Regions from separate parts of the Homo sapiens genome. Here region 1 is linked to region 2. Evidence: promoter capture Hi-C in 16 types of primary human blood cells and fetal thymus (Javierre and others, 2016). All regions are on one chromosome and are shown on one strand. The core of a region is centred on a gene start or on the middle of the fragment in contact, and the rest is flanking DNA. Distances in the headings are between cores, read along the strand shown. Region 1 overlaps NR5A2 (nuclear receptor subfamily 5 group A member 2). Region 2 holds the start of C1orf53 (chromosome 1 open reading frame 53).

Region 1 (3,237 bases), core at 310-2,809, 2.1 Mb before region 2:
AAATAAAGAAAGGGAGTCAGTTTCAGGGCTCACTGCAGTGGTTGCCCTGCTTTGCTCGTGAACTTTGAAAATCAGTTTATTTCAAAGCCTTAATTAAGAAGAACCTCCTCCCACAGCAATGCGAAGAATTTATGGGTGCACTTATGATACAGCACCTTTCCCAGACCCTAGCATGGCAAGGATGCAGGACTCCAAACGCTTGGTCCTAAGAGGAAACCTCCAACCCCTAGTGTGTGGTGGTGATTTCACCTCTGCTTGGTGAAGCCGGGGGAAGTTAGGAGAGTTGAAAGAAGTTGAAAGAGGGTCTGACAGGACCTTGAAATTGTAGTGTATCAAGAAACCCTGCCTTGGCTTGAGGCTGAACCTGAGGCTGAGGCTGACCTAGTGAGACAAGCTTTGTGACCATGCTCATAACGCCAGCTGCCAGGGCCAGAAGGGACTTGCTTAGGCCACACTAGCGACTTCTTGGTCCATGCCAGTCTACCCTCCCACCACATCCCCGAAAGATGGAGAGTGGTGGTGGCAAAAGGCCAGCTGGCACTCATTTATCTCTCCACAGGTGGACTTTCCAGGAAAGAAAAATCCTCACAAAATGGGAGGGGTGCGGGAGGGAACGGTGGCTGGGGACTGGGTTTTAAAAATCCATGCTTTAAAAAATTAACGCAGGAGCTTGTATCACGGAGGGAAGCCCTTTCCTTTGCTTTGAAAGTCTAGTCCAGGCCAAAACCTAAGCGTAGCAGCGAAATGGAGGGGGACTGAAAGAGCAGAAAGTCTCGAGCGAGAGAAAACGACCTTTCCTAAGAACCAAGGGAACTCCTAGCTCAGAAGCCTAAGCCCTCGGCGCTCCAGGCCTTTAACTCGACGATGGGAAACGCTCCCTGGGGGCAGCCCTATTTCAGATCCCCTGGAAGGATGTCAAGATCCCCGCCAGCAGTGGACAAGGCAAGGAATCTTCCACTGGAATTGATTCTTGCCAGAGACCCGAGGGCACACAAACCTTCCTCAGGTAGCTCTGCAAGGGATTTAAGGAAGCAGCTGGGTCTCCATCCAAGAGGCAGAGGCAGGGGCGGCGGCACCAGGCTTCCAGCGTCAAGCTCATTACTGCCCTCCAAGTGCACCCTTTCTTCTCCCTCAGAACTCCCTCCTCCCTCTGAGCACTCACTCTGGTCCTTTGACCCTTCAATTCTGCTGGGCAAGGGACCCCTGTTGAAGCCGGGGACCCGCTAGCTCAGTGACCTTGGACGGGTCTGGGCGTCCCCCAGAAAGCCCTCTCCGAAAGGAAGCTGTGGGAGGAGGAACCCGAGTTTGCGGTGTCTAAGATGGGTTATTTGAGAATGGTTCTGGGTTCCCGAGGCCACAATATGAAGACAGCCAAGTGGCTGCGGGAAGGGAAAGCAGTTGAGATGTAAGTAGGTGGAACCGGGTCTGTGTGGTCTAAACGCCGGCGCCAGCGGTGGTCTGCACTGACCCATAAATACACCTACCGCGGGTGGACAGACGCATCTCATCCTCCGCCGGGGACATCTTAGCAACTGCCACTGTACCTCTTAGTGTAAGCACACTTAGGAACCCACCCCGTACTTACCGCTGCGGGAATTGTAACTGGTGGCGGAGACCAGAGACTAGAACCCGGGAGGCCTGGGAGTCTGTGGTGAGACCGGGGGACAGCTCTGCTCAACTACCTTGCGCGTTCTCAATTTCTTTGCACTCCCTCTGCCAACTTCTGGCAAACTTCTCTCCTTTTCCCCCACCTCCCCTCCACCTCCTTCTTTCCGACGAGACAGGTCTCCAGGGCTCGCCCTTCCCGGTTCTGACTTTGTCTTAAAGTGTTGATTGACGGTTGCAATTACGAAGGATGATGGCTCGGGGAGGCTCCCGCAGCCTTGATGAGCCGGAGAAGCGCAGTCCTAGCATATTTTATCCACGCTCGGCGTTACGGGGCCGTGCGCGCCCCATTCACCCAGCTGGCTGGAGCTGAGGAGGCCTCGCACTCCCCACTCGCGAGGATGCAACTGCCTGCCTTCCTCCCCACCCCCTCCTTCCCGTGGTTCAGCACCGCATTTCGGAGCGTGAGCTGGGAGCAATCAACTCGACCTGACCTGGAAAGTGTTGGTCAGCCCCCGCGCGCTTGACCCGTGCGGGCTGCAGCGGGAAAAAATATCAGGATTTTCAGGAGCGGTTCAAGTTTCCTGGGCTCGCAAAAGGTGTGGCAGACACATCTTTCCCCGCGCGCCTGGGTAGATGACCCACCCAAACTTGCACAAAACTTGCAATACCTTCCTCCTTCGAAACAATTTCTCCCGTCTTCTCTTCCATTCCCACTTTTTGGTGCTTTTTAAGAAACCAGGACAATTACTTTTTTCGTCCCACATATCTACCTTTTAGACCCCGAAAGAAGTCTAGATTTTTTTCAGATCTCCATTACTAGGCCAGGATAGCCCGAGGGGGAAGAGGAGCAAGTTTTTCAGCCTACGGGAGCTCCGGGTCTGCCTAATTTTTCCGCCCCTCCCAGCCGAAAAACCCATCAGAAGCTGCTTTTGCCTTTCTCTGAAAAGTTTAGCCAGAACTCCAGTTTCATTCCCTGGCTCAGAGGGCTGGGCTACCCGCCCACGCCCGTAGGCTCCACCCGCCCTCATCCCGAGCGCTTTGTATTAGAAACAGACGGGTTAAATTTCAGTACAGCCATAGGAATTACCAGGGAGCGTCGTGTTGATCGAAGCTTTAAAAAAGCAAACCTGAATAGGTGAGCAGTCGTGCCTTGTTTAAAAAAAAAAAAAAAAAAAAAAAAAAAAAAAGCCTTTCTGCTGCACGTGTGAATAACTACTTAAGACATCAACATCAGCCCCTAGAGCAGGATGGCGATTGATTCACAATCACTATGAGAGTATCTCGATCTGGCGTGGCGCGGTTTTTATCGCGGAGGAAAACGAAAGCCGAAGCAATTATCTGGGTAATCCAACCTACCCCCCACCCACCCCCCCGGGCAACCTCCCACCCTTGCCCCAGAGGAAAGGAGGGCTTTTTGGAGAGTTTGGCCTGGATATCGGAATCTACGGCTCTTTGTATAAAAAGAGTTCACTGAAGAACCTTTTCACTTATTTTCTTTACAGCACGTTGTCCCAACCCAGGGGTCCTGGAGTGCCCCGCCAGGGTATAGTCGGTGCCCTTAGAAGAATGTAACAGGGAGATCCGGTCTTAAGAAAGGAGTGGGGCAGGGGAAATAATCTCGGGTAGGTG
Region 2 (3,041 bases), core at 316-2,815:
TCTGCTTTGAGGCTGGAAGAAGGACCATAGTGAGGGGGCTCAGATTTGTCGAAAAAGAAAAACAAGCAGCTTGTTATTTACTGGGCTTACTTATGGTCACCTGGATAGTCATTTAACCTGTGATACTGACACTGATGAAACAAATGTGAATTTCCCGAGTGAGAAAAAGTTCCTTTCCTTCCCTAGACTGATTGAAAATTTCTTCACATGATACTGGTGTTTGCTCTAAGGAGAATGACACTTTTCTTTAATATCCACCATATCTATATTGCGAAGTATGAGAACAAATTATATACATTATTTTTAAAAGGAGAGCATAAACAAGAACAATCAAAAGCTGCCAGTCACTTCCTAATGAGTCTTTATTCAGTTTCAGCACTTGAATGGGTCAGACCGACAGTGGATTCTCAGGGCCTACTAACTGTCATTATTTAAATAAGTCAATTTTAGGCAACCTCCGGGATTTTCTTCTCTACCCCTTTGGCTCAAGTCATACCATATAATATTAGTCCCATCAAGTACTGGAGGCACACACACATAGCTTATTAAATGGGTTCATTTCATACTGCTTTTCTATCTTTATTATAGTCAGTTTCTCTTTTTTTCTCACTGTTTCTTTTGTAAAGGTAACCATGCTGCCTTTAAACTCACGCAGACTGTGTTAGAAGGCGTAAAGGGAGAGAAGTTTAGATACTGGTACTAACAGACAATTGTCAAATCCGCAAAACAGGAGAAAACAGCTGAGTGTCTACAAATGCCAGATTGTAGTTCCCTCTGCTCCGTTAAGAGTTAAGAGAAAGGACAAGAAGGCAATGGAAAAATTAAAATAAATGTGTCAATGTCTTTTTTTCTCACTCTAAGAATCACTGGATTGCTAAGTGTTCAACTGACAATGCAGAAAAACACACAACACATTTTTGTTGTGACTTCTCAGTCCCTCCACCTTCTCCATCAATTCCTTAACACCCCCTTCCGCAACACACACACACATACACCACAAAAGAGTGGTAGTGGGTCCCACACTGCGACCGGAGTTTAGCTCGGACGCTGATCGGAAAACAAATCACACTCATACTCAAGACAGACACAGGTTTCCCGCGAAAATGTCGGGGCTGGAAGTTCGTGTGCGTGCGCGAATGTCGCCCGAGGCAGGACCGCACCGGTATCCAGCAACCTTTGCCTCTGCCGGGCGGCCTCCGGGTCCGGAGAGGCCCGGGATGCGCAGGCGCGCCGAGCCCGGGGCGGCCGCGGCGGGGCGGGGCGGGCAGGAGGGAGTCTCACCGCGCAGGCGGCAGCGTGCAGCTCCGCGATCTGTCGCTCCGCCGCGGTTAACTCTTCGCTCACCGAAGGCCTCGCCGCTCTCTCCGGCCTACCGGGCGTGCTGGGCGCGGAGCCGCCGCAGTTTCCCTCGTTAGCAGGGCAGAGGGTTAAGCTGAGCTGCTGTCGGAACCCAGCTCTTACCCAGAGAGGTGCTGGCGGCGGGGCGGCGGAAGGTTGCCTGCAGAGCGCGGCACCCGTCCGTGCCCAGATCTGCCTGGCCGCCATGCCGCCGCCGGCCTTGGGAGGCGGAGCACCCGGCGCTGGGGCCCGGAGGGGCGACCAACGCGGGCCTGGGCGCGGCGAGCCGGTCTTGGGCAGCTCGTGGCCATCGCTGCGTGGGGTCGGTTCGCGCTGCCGTGGCAGCAGGTGGAGGCGGACGGACTGAGCCTTCTGCCTTCACCAGCGGGCCCGCTGCGGAAATAAAATGGGCTTTTAAGGCAGCTAACGAGGCTCTGATGAGCTGCCTGGACGGGGAAGAGCCTGGTGTTTCCACATCTTTGGACTTAAATTCTAAGCTCTTCCTTCTTCCCCCGCGCCCACCCAGCTGAAAGGTGGACATTTTTTGTTATGTCAGACTGGACTTGGGATCATTCAGTATAATCTCCACAACTGTTAAGATCCCAGAAAGTGATCAAAAGACCCGAGGTTTGTGAATAACCACCTTGGGCCTATCCAGAAAAGGCTGAGTGTTTCCAGGTAGTATGTGATAGGAATAAAGGTGGAAGCGGAGCCTTCTTTGCTTGGTTCTTTGGCCCACCCTAGAATAAGGGCCAAAAGTAAAATCGCACACTGAATAAGAAAAGGTGTTGTGTTCATGTTGCTGAATATTTACAAAATCCAACCTAAAACTATTATCTCCTTTCTGATGGATGAAAGTGATCTTGATACCGTCACATAATTGTATTTGAGAAAATTACGGCAAGCCCGGGAAGTAATTTCAGGTGTTAGGATTAAATTAACACCACCCCATCTTCCTACCCCCCGTCTGGGTTTCAAGAAAAGGAGGGCTGAAGAGTACCAATTTTGTTAGTGCTCTTCAATACTGGGAGGGCAGGAATTGATCTTTGAGGACAAAAGTAGATTATTCAGTTGTACAGGAGAAAGGCGACTAAGCCACTATAGACCATCACTACGTGTTTTTTGGTTTCTGTGTTTACCATGCAACCCTGTAGTCATATTTTCATTTTCTTAAATCTTAGTAGGAGGTGATTGAAACAACCCTATTGGTTCATTAAAAATCTCAGTGAATTAATAAATTGGTATTATATTTTGCAAATTGATTTTCTTTTTGTTGGAATAAAAAATTAGGATCTGGAGACTGTTAAGTAATCTGAGGAGAGTTTAAAATCTGGAAAGCGAAGGAGGGACCCTAGAGAAAGCTGTGGAAGAGTGGGACCAAACATGAGATCACCAAAAATGAACAACTGTGATGTTATTCACATTCACCATAAGTCAGGTCCCCGCACCAACAAAAACCTGAGATTGATTTACTGCATTGTCTTTAAAATTAAGGATCAGGATCCACTAATAGGCCATGACATCGATTCAAAGGGTAGAGACAGCATTTTACAGGAATGAAATAGACTAGACCAGATTTAAATAGAAAATAAATGGAACTATCTTATATAGATACATATCTTATATAGATACATATGTACAAGAGTACATATTGTTACATGAAACTTCTTTTGGTGAAGATGAGAGGGTGGAAGTGGACTGTA

Evidence for each region. Contacts are between HindIII fragments. The CHiCAGO score rates a contact against its expected background, and 5 or more counts as called.
Region 1: a contact is called between a fragment that was not itself captured here and the fragment with the promoter of C1orf53 in region 2, in 1 of 17 cell types (total B cells). The highest score is 12.9, in total B cells.

What each region holds. Positions count from the first base shown.
Region 1 is chr1:200,034,342-200,037,578 of GRCh38, reverse strand. All of the region lies in intron 1 of NR5A2 (nuclear receptor subfamily 5 group A member 2), which reads right to left. Among named protein-coding and RNA genes, the nearest start is that of NR5A2, 8.2 kb to the right of the region's middle. RefSeq lists an enhancer at 754-1,654. The HindIII fragment of the contact is 2,325 bases long and covers 397-2,721 here.
Region 2 is chr1:197,901,154-197,904,194 of GRCh38, reverse strand. C1orf53 (chromosome 1 open reading frame 53) reads right to left here and starts at 1,565. Exons shown (of 3, transcript NM_001024594.3): 1 at 1,282-1,565. The coding sequence starts at 1,545. RefSeq lists silencers at 1,111-1,360, 1,531-1,680. The HindIII fragment of the contact is 7,446 bases long and covers 1-3,041 here.